5 separate regions of the Homo sapiens genome follow, and regions 1, 2, 3 and 4 are each linked to region 5. Evidence: promoter capture Hi-C in human tissues and cell types (Jung and others, 2019). All regions are on one chromosome and are shown on one strand. Each heading gives the region's core, a stretch centred on a gene start or on the middle of the fragment in contact. The rest is flanking DNA. Distances are from core to core; before and after follow the strand shown.

The links. The method cuts DNA at HindIII sites, captures the fragments that hold promoters and counts their contacts. A contact is called where the count stands out against the background at its distance.
Region 1: a fragment that was not itself captured here is called in contact with the fragment with the promoter of CGN in region 5 in 1 of the 25 tissues and cell types used here (H1 embryonic stem cells).
Region 2: a fragment that was not itself captured here is called in contact with the fragment with the promoter of CGN in region 5 in 4 of the 25 tissues and cell types used here (H1 embryonic stem cells, IMR-90 fibroblasts, aorta and 1 more).
Region 3: a fragment that was not itself captured here is called in contact with the fragment with the promoter of CGN in region 5 in 6 of the 25 tissues and cell types used here (aorta, bladder, heart left ventricle and 3 more).
Region 4: a fragment that was not itself captured here is called in contact with the fragment with the promoter of CGN in region 5 in 1 of the 25 tissues and cell types used here (liver).

The regions. Positions count from the first base shown.
Region 1 is chr1:151,639,348-151,642,047 of GRCh38, forward strand. All of the region lies in intron 2 of SNX27 (sorting nexin 27), which reads left to right. Among named protein-coding and RNA genes, the nearest start is that of SNX27, 29 kb to the left of the region's middle. The HindIII fragment of the contact is 4,881 bases long and covers 1-2,700 here.
Region 2 is chr1:151,720,888-151,723,587 of GRCh38, forward strand. It overlaps RIIAD1 (regulatory subunit of type II PKA R-subunit domain containing 1), which reads left to right and starts at 635. Exons shown (of 5, transcript NM_001144956.3): 1 at 635-733; 2 at 1,199-1,275. The coding sequence starts at 650. RefSeq lists a silencer at 520-589. The HindIII fragment of the contact is 5,488 bases long and covers 1-2,700 here.
Region 3 is chr1:151,318,946-151,321,645 of GRCh38, forward strand. All of the region lies in intron 1 of PI4KB (phosphatidylinositol 4-kinase beta), which reads right to left. Among named protein-coding and RNA genes, the nearest start is that of PI4KB, 7.1 kb to the right of the region's middle. The HindIII fragment of the contact is 7,586 bases long and covers 1-2,700 here.
Region 4 is chr1:151,379,846-151,382,545 of GRCh38, forward strand. No RefSeq gene overlaps it. Among named protein-coding and RNA genes, the nearest start is that of SELENBP1, 8.5 kb to the left of the region's middle. The HindIII fragment of the contact is 4,780 bases long and covers 1-2,700 here.
Region 5 is chr1:151,510,068-151,512,767 of GRCh38, forward strand. It overlaps CGN (cingulin), which reads left to right and starts at 1,320. Exons shown (of 21, transcript NM_020770.3): 1 at 1,320-1,448. RefSeq lists enhancers at 397-973, 974-1,549, 1,701-1,840 and a silencer at 971-1,370. The HindIII fragment of the contact is 12,501 bases long and covers 1-2,700 here.

The DNA.
Region 1 (2,700 bases), core at 79-2,578, 130 kb after region 5:
TTTAGATAGTTTCAAGTTTGCATTCTGGTTTGTCGTAAACGTGTGAGTTTTTGTTTAGTTTCTTTTTTGTTTGTTCTTTTGTTGGTTGCCGTATCTCTTTGCTAATAGTATCTTATTTACTGTTGATTCTGTGGTGCTATAGGGCAAGATTAATGTAAAAGGATGGTGTCCTTCAAGATATTTGGGTAATAGAGAGGTTCACCCATTTCAGAACTTAGATGTCTCTACTCTTCTTTCCACATCATGTTCTTTTTCATTTTCTTTGGAGATATCCGTGTGAATGATTAACTGTGGTTTTTCCCACGAGTTTCCTGAATGCAATTCCCATGAGCTGTTTCACACATTTCTAATCTGTTGCTGTTGTAGCTATGCAGGAAAGCCCATCTTGAATTTTTAGTGATGTGTGCTAGCCCCTTTGCTGAATGCCTTTGTTCTTCAGAGCCTAATTGCCACTGATAGCTCAGTCTACTTAATTTTTCTTTTGGTTGCAATATGCTTTATTTGCCTTTAATTATTTGTGGAGTGTTGATATAATGAGAAATGTTCATTATTCTTAGTAGAAAATGCAGTGGGTTCTGTTAGATGCTGGCAAACAGACTACAGGTTTTAAAGCTTAACAGTTGACTAAAGTTACAGTCTCTAAAACTGAGATTTATCCTCTGCATAGGAACGAGCTACTAAACATTTATGGTAAATTCTTTTTAGTGAAGAGATAAGAAAAGCAAGGAAGCTAAAAGAGTTGCAGAGGATCAAATAATGCTTGGTTGCATCTGTAATTAGCTGTAGATAATGGCATATAGGTTTTATTTCAGCATGGACTTCTGTAGTCTTAGAACCACACACAGAATTTAGAGTTTTATGCTTCCTAAGTGCTAACTTTGAGTCATAAGGCATGTAAGAAGTTGAAATCAAGGTCACATCCTAAAAGTAGAGCAGTCTGGATGTTGAGACCTTTTGGGAATTACCTAAAACCTTGGAAACCTGAGAAAAGGAATAATACTACCAATTGTACCTTTGTTTATTTTTATTTTTATTATATATATTTTTTAAGACGAAGTCTCACTCTGTCCCCCAGCCTGGGGTACAGTGGTGTGATCTTGGCTCACTGCAATCTCTGCCTCCCGGGTTCAAACAATTCTGCCTCAGCCTCCCAAGTAGCTGGGATTACAGGTGCGCACCACCATGCCCTGCTAAGTTTTGTATTTTTAGTAGAGATGGTGTTTCACCATGTTGGCCAGGCTAGTCTCGAACTCCTGACCTCAGGTAATCCACCTGCCTCAGCCTCCCAAAGTGCTGGGATTACAGGTATGAGACACTGCGCCCAGCCCACTAATTGTACTTTTCAAATCAACTTTATTGAACATAGTTTACCTATATTAACATTCACTCATGTTAAGTCTCCACTTTTACAAGTTTTGACAAATGTACATAGTCTTATAACCACCACCACCACCATGAAGATTTAGAATATTTTCATACCCTCAAAAGTTCCCTCATGCCCTTTACAGTTAGTCCTCACCCCTTACCACTGCCCTTGTCAACCACGGATCAGCTTACTGTCACCATATTTTACATTTTCCAGAATGTCAAATAAGTAGAATCATACCATTTGTACTCTCTTGTATCTGGCTTTGTTCAGTTAGTATAGTGCTTAAGATTGGCAGACATTGTTATTTAAACCAAATATTTGTCCCTTTTTAATTGCTGAGTAGTAGTCCATTGTATAGATTTACTACAGTTTGTTCATCCTTTCATTGTTCATGCACATGTGGGTTGTTTGCAGTTTTGGACTAGTATGACTAAAGCTGCCATGAAATAATATTAAATGTACAGGTCTTTATGTAGACATATGTTTTCATTGCTCTTGAGTATATACCAAGAAGTGGAATTGCAGGGTAAGTGTAAGTTTAACTTTATAAAAAACTGCCAAACAGTTTTCCAAAGTGGCTATATCATTTTTACATTATCATATGCAGTGGAGAGTTCCAGTGGTTCCATAACCTCTTGATATTTTCAGTCTTTTTAATTCTAGCCATTCTCATGGACATAGTGATACCTTACTGTGGTTTTAATTTGCATTTACCTAATGACTCATGATGATGAGCTGCTTTTTGTGTGCTTAATGGGCATTCATGTGTCTTCATTGATGAAGTAGCTGTTTAACTCTTTTGCCCGTTTAAAAAATTGGGTTGTCTTATTATTTTATTGTAGGGGTTCTTTATACATTCTGGTTCTACAAGTCCTTTATCAGATATATATATATATATATATATATATATATATCATATGTATCATATATATATCATATGTATCAGATATATATATCATATATATCTGATATATATATCATATATATGATATATATAGCATATGATATATATCAGATAGATATATCAGATACATATATATCATATATATGCTATATATATCTGATATATATGAGATATATAAGATATAGATATATATGAGATATATATGTCAGCTATAGATATATATGAGATATATATATCAGCTATAGATATATATGATATATATATCAGCTATAGATATATATGAGATATATATATCAGCTATAGATATATATGAGATATATATATCAGCTATAGATATATATGAGATATATATATATCAGATATAGATATATATGAGATATATATATCAGATATAGATATATATGAGATATATATATATCAGATATAT
Region 2 (2,700 bases), core at 40-2,539, 210 kb after region 5:
TCAGTTGGGAGTGGAATAAAATAATTTAGAATTTATGAGGAGCCCAGGGTGAAGAGAAAGTTAATCTACACAAAAAAGTCAGTCCAAGAGGGGGAAATTCTGGCAGAATGTCCCCCAGGTCCTTTCCAGCATCTTTAGTCGGACAGAACGTTCCTTCCTTTGCAGAACTCAGCTCACTCTATGTTCTGGGGTGCTTCCACGTTGTTTGAAGAATCCACGGCTCCAGTGTCGAATGTGTACCGGACAGAGGGACGGGTTGGCTTCTGGGACAGTGGAAAGGGAAGAAGCTTGGGTTCTCTTTCCCCAGTACTAGGCTTCCTCTAGCTTCTGTCCAAGTGAGGGAGTCTGGAAGCAGATTCGGGGAGACCTTTTTTCCTGTTTTACTCTAGAGCTAACAAAAAAACCCTGAAGTTGGGTGGGGTCAAAAAGGGCTCATTCCACATACAATTAAGTCCAGAAATCAGTCCCCCAATCCGGGAAAGGCGATCCTTTAGAGACCCACCCCCCAAGCCCCCGCCCCGGAGCTCACCCCTCAGTTCCCTCAGCCCCTAGCCCCTGCTTCGCTGAAGGGGCCGGGCTTGGGGGCAGGGCGGGGCCGGGGGCGGGGCCTCGCCGGCTCGCGGCCGGTCGCCTTGACGACCGCAGCAAGATGGAGACGCTGCCAGGCTTGCTGCAGCGGCCCGACCCCGGGGCGCTTAGCGCAGCGCAGCTGGAGCAGCTGCGAAAATTCAAGGTGGGTGCGCCCGCGCCCCCATCCAGCGTCCACCAAAGTGTAGCTGCCCCAGGACTGGGGCCCCAGACTGGGAAGAGAGCCGCCGAGAGAAGGGGAGCGGGAGCCTGTTCCCTGATAAAGTGGGGAGGGCGCAGGGGAGACCCCCGGCGGACCTCTAGGCGTCTGATCCCAGCACAGAGCGCGACGGGCATCTGAGAGTGCAGGAAGAACTAACTCAGGGACTCGGCCAGAGAAATGGGCCGAAATTACTGCCAGACACATCCGACCTTAGTAAAGGCCCCTCATCCTGAACAAGCGGCAGAATGATATTTTATCTGTAAGAAGATGGGTGGCTTAAACTTTCAAGCATCCTGGGGAAAGACTTGGGTTAAATGCGCACGCCGTTTCCCGCAGCCCTTCACATCTCCAGGGCTGAACCCTGAATCTGTCTCCTAATGGAAGTGACCCTTTGTTCTTGCCCCCCAGATTCAGACTCGGATTGCTAACGAAAAGTACCTAAGGACCCACAAAGAAGTAGAGTGGCTCATAAGTGGTTTCTTCAGGTAGGTGGTTTTCCAGGCTCTGGGATTTGTGGCACGCAGGGTTTTCTTCGTTATCTCTAGAGGTTTCCTTCAGTTATCTCTAAATTCTTAAAAATATGTCTATTCATTTACTTTAACCATAAGGATAAATACATACCTTATGACACTTGGAAGAGGGAATTTGGCGTTGCGAAACCCAACAGCCATCCACTGGGTGTAGAACACTATTCTCAACCATAGGAGCTTAACAAAATCACTAGTTGAACTTAAAACAAAAATCAGTTGTCTGGTTGGCCCTTCCCTACTTGAAAACATTACTGTAGAAAAATTCCAAGGGTTGGAAGCCACTCTTTTCTTGGGGAAGAGAAGACAATTTACCAGCGTATCCTGGAATATGTTCTTTCCTTCCCCCACCCTCCTTTCAGCCTGGCATTTGCTTGAATGGAAACATATCCTAATGGGATGAAGAAGGAGAATTAAAAAAATAAATCACGGAGCATCAGTGGATGAAAACAATAGAGCTATCTCAAATGCTGTTTGGTTATAGACAAATAGACAAGGTTTAAATAATTATAATGGCACCCATCTCCAGGCATTGTGCTGTTCCCCTACATTAGCACTTACCACACTGTATTGTAATTGAGCTGTCAATCTTCTGTTACTGGTCCAAAGCTCCGAGCTTGTGGAGTGTGTTTGTGTTCTCAGTGCCCACGCAGTGTGTGGCATCTTGGAACACTTTTGCTGATCCTCCCAGCACCTCCACAAAAGACAGGTGATTGTCATTTTTATTTTATAAGTGAGAAAATTTAAGCTTAGAAAGGTGAAGTACCTTCCCAAAGTTGCTGAACCAGGATTCAAACCCCTGGTTTTCCCACTGTATTGTGCTGTAAGCAGTCGGTCCCCATTTCCCCTCTGGACTGTGTGCTTATAGCCAGAGGTGGGCCCTCCCTTGTCTTCTCAAAAGTTGGCGAGGTCAGGCAAGGTGGCTCATGCCTGTAATCCCAGCACTTTGGGAGGCCGAGGCGGGTGGATCACCTGAGGTCGGGAGTTCGAGACCAGCCTGACCAACATGGTGAAACCCCGTCTCTACTAAAAATACAAAATTAGCCAGGCGTGGTGGCACATGCCTGTAATCCCAGCTACTTGAGAGGCTGAGGCAGGAGAATCGCTTGAACCCAGGAGGCAAAGGTTGCAGTGAGCTGGGATTGCTCCATTGCACTCTAGCCTGGGCAACAAGAGCAAAACTCCATCGCAAACAAACAAAAAAAAGTTGGCCAGGCAGATGCGTTGGCTCACGCCTGTGATCCCAGCACTTTGGGAGGCTGAGAGGGGTGGATCACTTGAGGCCAGGAGTTCGAGACCTGCCTGGCCAACATGAGGAAACCCTGTCTCTACTAAAAATACAAAAATTAGTCAGGCGTGGTGGCACGTGCCTGTAATCCCAGC
Region 3 (2,700 bases), core at 87-2,586, 190 kb before region 5:
CCAGTGCCGTGGCTGCTAACATATAATGGAAAGAGCTCTGGACTTGAAGGCAAATAGGCTGGGGTTGAAAATCCTCATTCAGCCTTTCAGAAATGTGCAACTTATGCAAGCCATTTATCCTCAACTGCAAATTGGGAAAAAACACTTCCTTCTCATTGTTGCTATGTGGAACAAATACCATCACGTGTATGAAAGAATCTAGCACAGTCTTTGATACATAGTAGTACTCAATATATGCTAGTTGAGGCCGGGCACAGTGACTCATGCCTGTAATCCCAGTGCACTGGGTGGCTGAGGCAGGTGGATCACTTTGAGGTCAGCAGTTCAAGACCAGCGAGACTCTGTCTCAAAAAAAAAAAAAAGAAATGCTAGTTGAATCCTCATCACCTAAAAGGTTACTAACCAGTGTGTGTGTAACATAAAACTTATATTATTTTATAAGGGAAGCAAAGAGTTCCAATTGTTTGAGAATCTTCCAGAAATACTTATGACAGCCTTTTCTGCCCCAATACCACTCCCCCCACTGTCATACACACATTCTAACAACTGGAGGGACAATTGAAAAGGCAAAAAGAAATCAGACTAGGACTCATAGATCTAGGCCTTCCAAAGAACAGGGAGGAACAGGAGTCACAAAACAAAGAACACCTCCTCTGGAGGGACTGTTGGAAGGAAGTTCAATGAAAGAACACTGCTGACCAAAGCCACTGCTCTCCAAGAACAATCCTTCAGAGCCTCACCAAATCTGGAATCAGTGCAGAACTGGGGAAATTTCATCAGATCAACCTGGCTCCAGAATCTGACTATAGCTAACAAAGGACTCAGACTCAGAGGCCTCTTCACAAAAATGCTAATAGAGTGAGTCTAAGACACACTCAAGAGCATGAGCAAGAGGAAAGATTTTGTAGAGTTGGAATACAGGTAATTTCAAAATATTAGTGACATCACCTTCAACCCCGGTGACCCTGGATGCATATACTTTGGGTAGGTGGAATAAGGAGGCCTAGAGATTCTTTAGTCCCTCTGGGAGGCTGTTTTCCACCACCACCCTTCCAGTGTCTGTTCTTGTACGTCTGAAATGTTAAGGTTACTTTTTTTTTCTTTTTGAGACGGAGTCTCGCTCTGTCGCCCAGGCTGGAGTGCAGTGGTGCAATCTTGGCTCACTGCAAGCTCCGCTTCCCGGGTTCATGCCATTCTCCTGCCTCAGGCTCACAAGTAGTTGGGACTACAGATGCCCGCCACCACGCCCGGCTAATTTTTTGTATTTTTAGTAGAGGCAGGGTTTCACCATGTTAGCCAGGATGGTCTCGATTTCCTGACCTCGTGATCTGCCCACCTCGGCCTCCCAAAGTGCTGGGATTACAGGTGTGAGCTGCCGCGCCCGGCCCCAGGTTACTTTTAACTGCCCAATATCATATAGTCCAGCTCCCTGCCTCCCAGCAGTCACCACTAAAGTTTTGCAGAAAGACGGATGGGGAACTCTTCTGTTCTCAGAGATCACCAAAAAAGGCTATTTCTGTTTCTTTCTGCCAACTCTGCCAAGCAAGTTCATTCCTGAATTTAATATCCCTGATGCAGATTGAGCTTGGTATTGGTAAGAAGGTGGCAACTCTTTCACTATGCTCTCTCCCAAAATTAGGTAGTGCCCTCTGAGCAGTAGAACCAGCATGGCTGCCTATGTGGATCTGTCCCTACTCGCAACTGTGAGTTGCACAGGAATAATAAGAAGGAAGCTTTAATCATTCCCTGCCACACCTTCGTAGGGCACTCTCATCAGAGGGTCACCGATTCAACGGGGACCACTACCTTTTAGGTCTGCTTAGAAACTCATGTGATAGCCTCAATCATCTTAAACAATCAACTTCTTTTTCTCAGTCTCTATGTTTGGTACATCCTTTCCTCTCCCTCTAGTCCACAGACTTTTAAGTCACTGAAAGCTCCTAGAAGTACACTTTTCAAAACTTTCAAGGGAAATACAGTTCAGACATTCTCCCACATAATAGTGTCTCAGACCTCACTAGAAAATTTAGCAGATGCCTGCCCCAATTAACTACGATTGGGATTATTACTGGCACCAGGAAGGCAAATAAGGATACTATCACCTCTTTTATCTCACAGACAAAAGAAAAACTCCCAGGGCTCAGCTAAGAATCACATCACAGTATTCAGAGGATTTTGCTACTGAACAGACTCTCCCTCCCGGCAGCTTTTACTCCTCAGGGAGCTAGACAGTGTTGAGAGGTGCAGGAAAAAACAGACTCCTCTCCTATATAAGCAGCTCTACCACTAGAAACCACCAAACTGGAGCTGGGTCTCTTCCCTGGCCTCTCAGGAACCCAGGCACTGCCTGCATCTGAAGCAAGTCATATGGAGAAGAAGGTGTTGTAGGGAATAGGGTTAAATTGCTTTAGCTATTTATTATTACTATTATTTTTATTTTATTTATTTTTTTGAGACAGAGTCTTGCTCTGTTGCCCTGGCTGGAGTGGAGTGCAGTGGCGCAATGTTGGCTCACCGCAACCTCCGCCTCCCAGGTTCAAGCGATTCTCCTGCCTCAGCCTCCCAAGTAGCTGGGATTACAGACACCCGCCACCATGCCCAGCTTGCTTCATTTAGTTTTGAATGCCAAGAAAATATGCCTTTGTGGGCAGGGCATGGTGGCTCACGCCTGTAATCCCAGCACTTTGGGAGGCTGAGGAG
Region 4 (2,700 bases), core at 150-2,649, 130 kb before region 5:
CCTGGGCGACAGAGCAAGACTCCGCTTAAAAAAAAAAAAAAAAACCTAAAGAAAAGGATTTGTAGAGATAAAGCTTCCCTTATCATGCCAAATGTAGCTAACAGTGGTTACCTCAAGAATTGGATTACAGGGAGCAATTTTTATTTTTCACATTATGTATCAATCATATTTTTAAAATTTTATATTAAGTTTGAAATACATGTGTAAACAATTGAAACAGTGAAAGAATACAGTAACATTTTTGCCTATAAGATGGGCAAAAAATTTAAAGGTTAAAATCTTGTATTGGTGAGACTATGCGGCAAAGGGACCACTCATTTAGGACTAATGAGAGTGTCAATTGGTGCCTTACTAACAAAAACAATTTGTCAATACCTCACAAAAGTTAAACTGTGCATACTGTTTTACCTAGGAATTTCACTTCAAGGATGCAATCCCATGGAAATACCTGCACAAGTAGGCAAGAAACAGGTACAGGTTGAGGCGGTGGCTCACGCCTGTAATCCCAGCACTTTGGGAGGCTGAGGCAGGTGGATCCCCTGAGGTCAAGAGTTCGAGACCAGCCTGGCCAACATGGCAAAACCCTGTCTCTACTAAAAGTATAAGAATTAGCCTGGCGTGGTGGCACACACCTGCAATCCCAGCTACTTGGGAGGCTGAGGCAGGAGAATCACTTGAACCTGGGAGGTGGAGGTTGCAGCGAGCCAAAATTGCACCACTGCATTGCAGCCTGGGGCGACAGAGGGAGACTCTGTCTAAAAAAAAAAAAAAAAAAGAAAAAAGATATAGGTACAGGTTGAGCATCCTTAATCTGAAAATCTGAAATCCAAAATGCTCCAAAATCTGAAATGTTTTGAGCACCAGTGTGACACCACAGGTAGCAAATTGCGTGCCTGACCTCACGTGTTGGGTCACAGTCAAGACTTTGTTTCATGTACAAATTATTTAAAATATTGTATAAAGTTACCTTCAGGCTATGTGTATAAGGTGTTTATGAAACACAAATAAATTTGCGTTTAGACTTGGGTCCCATCCCCAAGATATTTTAATATATATATATGTATTCCAAAATCTGAAAAAAATCTGAAATCTGGAACACTTCTGGTCCCAAGCAGTTTGGATAAGGGATACCCAAACTGTAATAATAAAATAACAACAGCTATCATTTATTAAATACATGGTACTGTTCGAAGTACTTAGGGATAAAGAAAGAGAAATGAACCACATCCACCTCATATAAAAGCTTTCCATGTGCCAAGTACTTCTCTGAGCTATTTGCATGTTCTGCCTTTACTTATACAGGGTTTACAACATCCCTATGAAGTGGGTATTTTCATTATGTCCAATTTACAGATAAAGAAGTTACAGCATAGAAAGAGGAAGCAACTCATACAAAGTTACACAGCTAGTGAGTAGCAGAGCCCAGGATCTGAAGCCAGGCAGTAGCTTCAGGCTCTGGCCTGGGACCTCTATGCACATAAGTTCGCAGCCCCTTCAGACAGAATGCTTTTGTGTTTTGTTGCTTGGATGGCTGGCCAGCACATTCAGCCCTTTCTATATTGGGTGGGAGGCAAAAGGCCAGATACTCACCGTCCCAGGCCTTAGGCCTCCTTGCTGCTAGGAGCAAGCATGTGACTTGGTCTTGGACGCAGCCAGGTGTGCCCACCGGAGACTCCAACACAAGGAAGTAGGGAGTGGGTTCTGGTTGCTGCAGGGAAGGCTGGTGTGCGGGTGGGTCACCATGCTGCAGAACCTCCCAGGGTCCAGCGCAGCTGGTGGTGCCATGGCAGCACATAGAACTTGAGGGGTAGAGGCAGTGTCCTTTGATTGGGATCTAGGACAAGAAAGGGCTCTCTGGCTGCAACCACTTCTGCCACTGGGGCCTTATGATCGAGCAGATCCAGTGATGCTTGGTGAGTTGGGGTGATCCATGGGATGAGGCAGGCAAGAGGCAGAAGGAGAGTCCCCAGGGTGACCCCAAATGATTGAGCCCAGCCCACTTCAGCAAAGAACAGTTCTCTTGAAAAACAGCCTCTTCTGAGCTTCTGGGTCCCAAGAGAAACCAAACATGAGAGGATGGGACACCAGGTGGCCTTTGACTCAAGCCTCCTTATGAACTGGGGATTATCTGATCCACCTAGCTAGCCCAGGAACCAAGCCCAGGAGCTCATCATCCTTAAGTAGAACTGGGTTGAGCCCGAAAGGAACCCTGAGAGTGAAGCTGCCAACAGCAGAGAGAAGCTGCGGAGTCGCCTGGCTAGCCCTGTCTTGCCAATACCCTCTCCCCTCAGTCCACCCTAAGAGCTTTAGAAGTTATACATGAAGACTACAGAGAAGAAAAACATTCTAGGCTGGGTTACAGGTGGCTGGCTCTCCACTATACACCATCATCAGCCAGAAGTGGTCTATTATTAAGAGATTAACAACAAGAATTTTAGAACCAGACTGTGTGTGTGAATTCCACTTCCACCAGTTACTAGCTTTATGAATCTGGGCAAGTAATTTAACCTCTCTGTACCTCGGTTTCCTCATCTCTAAAAGAGAGAAAATAAAATATCTATTCCCCTCATAGGGTGTTTTGAAAATTGCATGATGATATACATAAAGCTCTTCGAAAAGCACCCAGAACCTAACATACGCTGTGTTGTTGTTGTTGCAGCAATACAGCCCTTCTGAGAAAGTTCTAGAGAGCTGTTGAAC
Region 5 (2,700 bases), core at 70-2,569:
TCCCCACCCCCACTACATGTTTTTTGCTGTTCCTCCCCAGGGAACAGGCCGGTTTGATGGCCCTAATCCTTATATACAGCTTGCTCTGGAATGCAGAGACTTTGCATCCCAGCTGAGGAGCTGGTAAGTGGACTTTACTCTGTAGGACCCACACCTAGCTTTTGAAGGCTTGGGGAGGGGCGGAAACCAGCTCCCGAGAATACACCGGAATCTGTGCTGCATCGAAGATTCCTCTTCTACTCCAATAGATACAGGGTAAATATTTGTTGTAACTAAATGAGAACAAAATCCGGAGCCCAGCAACGTAAACGAAGTCAATCTCTTTTTTACATATCTCAACGGTTAACAGCTAGGATGCCAGCTTTAATGTTGTTTTAACTGCAGCTGGTATGAGCGGTCCTGCAGTTTGCAGAGCCCCTAGTTTTTACTCTTTTCTAGGAACTGGGATCAGCATCCCTACTTTTTGAGAGGCTAACTCTGAGGTAAATTTACAACTGAGTCCCTTTCAGTTTAGAACGAAGGTCATTCCTATTTTGGTAAATTTGCGTCCCCGGTTTCCATTCATTCAGTCAACAAATATTTATTAAGCATGTAGTATGTACCAGTCCCTGTTGTAGGCGTTTGGGGTGAAGCAAGGCACAGAACAAGAGATCCTTGCTCTGGTGAAGCTTATCGTAGGACGGGAGGCAAAATGATGAAAATGATTTTTAAAATTATGTTATTAACTAGAAGGTGATAAATATTACATAGAAAAAGATGTCAGGCTGCAAAATGATTGCGGAGGCCACAAGATAAAAGAGAATCCAAGATCAGGGTTCTGGTTCGGGTCAGGGAAAAGGGAGACGAGCTGAGGTGCAGGAGGCTCTGACGTCGGGGGACAACGGAGATATTTTCTGCAGAAAGTGACGAAAGAGCATTCTGGTTCCTGCAGAGGTAGGTGAAGGACAGAAAGGGCCCTGGCCGGCGATTCCCTTGGAGTAAACGGGAGGCAGGAGGCTGTTTTCTAGCAGAGCCCAGAAGATGCTCTGGCCGACGGCTCCCGGGATCTTGGCCGGCGGTCACTCGCGACCATCCGCGACGCCCCCAAAATGGCCTCCGCGCCCCTCGCCGCCCCGCCCCGACGCTCCGCAGCCCGTGGGTCCACGTGACCTGGCCCGCCCTTCGCGGCTGGAGACCCCGGGTCCCGGTCCCCGCACCGGAGGCCCCGCCCCCTACGGGAAGCGGACCAACCGGAGCGGGGAAAGGCGGGGCGGGCACTGACGGCCCGCGGGGGTGGAGCTCCGCAGCGGAGTAACAGGTTGGTGGGAGGGAGAGAAAGGAGGGAGCTCCGAGGACGAGGGGGAGGGCCGGAGCTGCGCGTGCTGCTTTGCCCGAGCCCGAGCCCGAGCCCGAGCCCGAGCCCGAGCCCGAGCCCGAACGCAAGCCTGGGAGCGCGGAGCCCGGCTAGGGTGAGTGGACCCGGTGCGGGCCAGGGCACCCGAGAGGAAAGCGAGCCTTCAGGGGTACCTTTGAGGGGCAGGCATCGAGGCGGTGTGAGATGCCCCTCTCCAGGGCACCGGTGCCGAGTGGGAGACGGGAGGAGGGGAGATTGGGGCGGGGTGGGGTACTGATTAAGAGCCGACCCCTACCCTGAGGTGCCAGATGCAGGTGGCTAGGAAGGTGCCAGGCGAGGGGCACCTGGGGCGAAGGCTGTTCCCAGCGCATGAAAGCGTTTCAGCGCCAGATGTCTCTGGAGGTCAGACGCCAGCCCTAGGGGCAGAATTTCTCTTGGAGACAGCGGTGGCGCGGGGAAGGAGTTAGTTCCAGCTGAGTCGGGAACTGCTGCTGCCTGAGGTGCAGACTCGCCAGGGGAGGGCATCTGCAGGTGCTGCTCGCCTGAGGGTCTTTCCTGCGTCCTGCGGTCTCAGCTGGCCGTTGTCAGCACCCTGGTGGCTTTGAGATGACTCTGAGGTGTGGGATTTTTTCCCCAGCCCTTCACCTCCGGCCGAAGGCAGTTGCGAATCAGAGACACTGAGGGGCAGATGAGAGGGCACCCTCATCTCTTCACCAGGTGTACAACCATTAGGCTTTCACTTTGTGTCCTTTGCTTTCGTGCCAGGGAGAATCGTTCCTTCTTCCTCTTGAGAGAGAGAGAGAGTACTCCCCAAGAGAGGGATATGAGGAAGCAAAGAGCCCTGCCTGGTCCTGCAAAATATTGATAAATATTAATACTTATTTCTCAGGAGGCCCCTTTCTGGGGGCGGATGTCAAACCCTTTCTCCAAGTACCCACATATTTTTTCTGTGGTTCTAGATGGGGACCATTGGATGAGGTTTGGGAGCCCAACCAATTTCCTTGATGTCTGGAGGAATCCCCATTACTCCCTGAACGCCCTCCAGGCATCCCTGACTCCTGAACTGCGGTGGCTGTCAGAATGGCAGCAGGCACTATTGGGGCAGGAAATAGGCAGGACTCATCAGGAGACCACGAGACTAGGGAAATTACAACTCCAAATCCCCAGGACAGATGAAAGGTGCACCTTGGGGCCCAGACAAGACTGGAGGCAAATTTCTTTGCCTTAGGCAGGTAAAGGAACTAGAGTCAACCTTAGCTTGGCCCCTTTGAAGCCCTGCCTGAGGAAGGTTGTTGTAATTGGGAAATAATTAGCAACCGCTATGTTTGTAGATGGGCTGCCTACACATGCCTATGCATCTCTTCTTT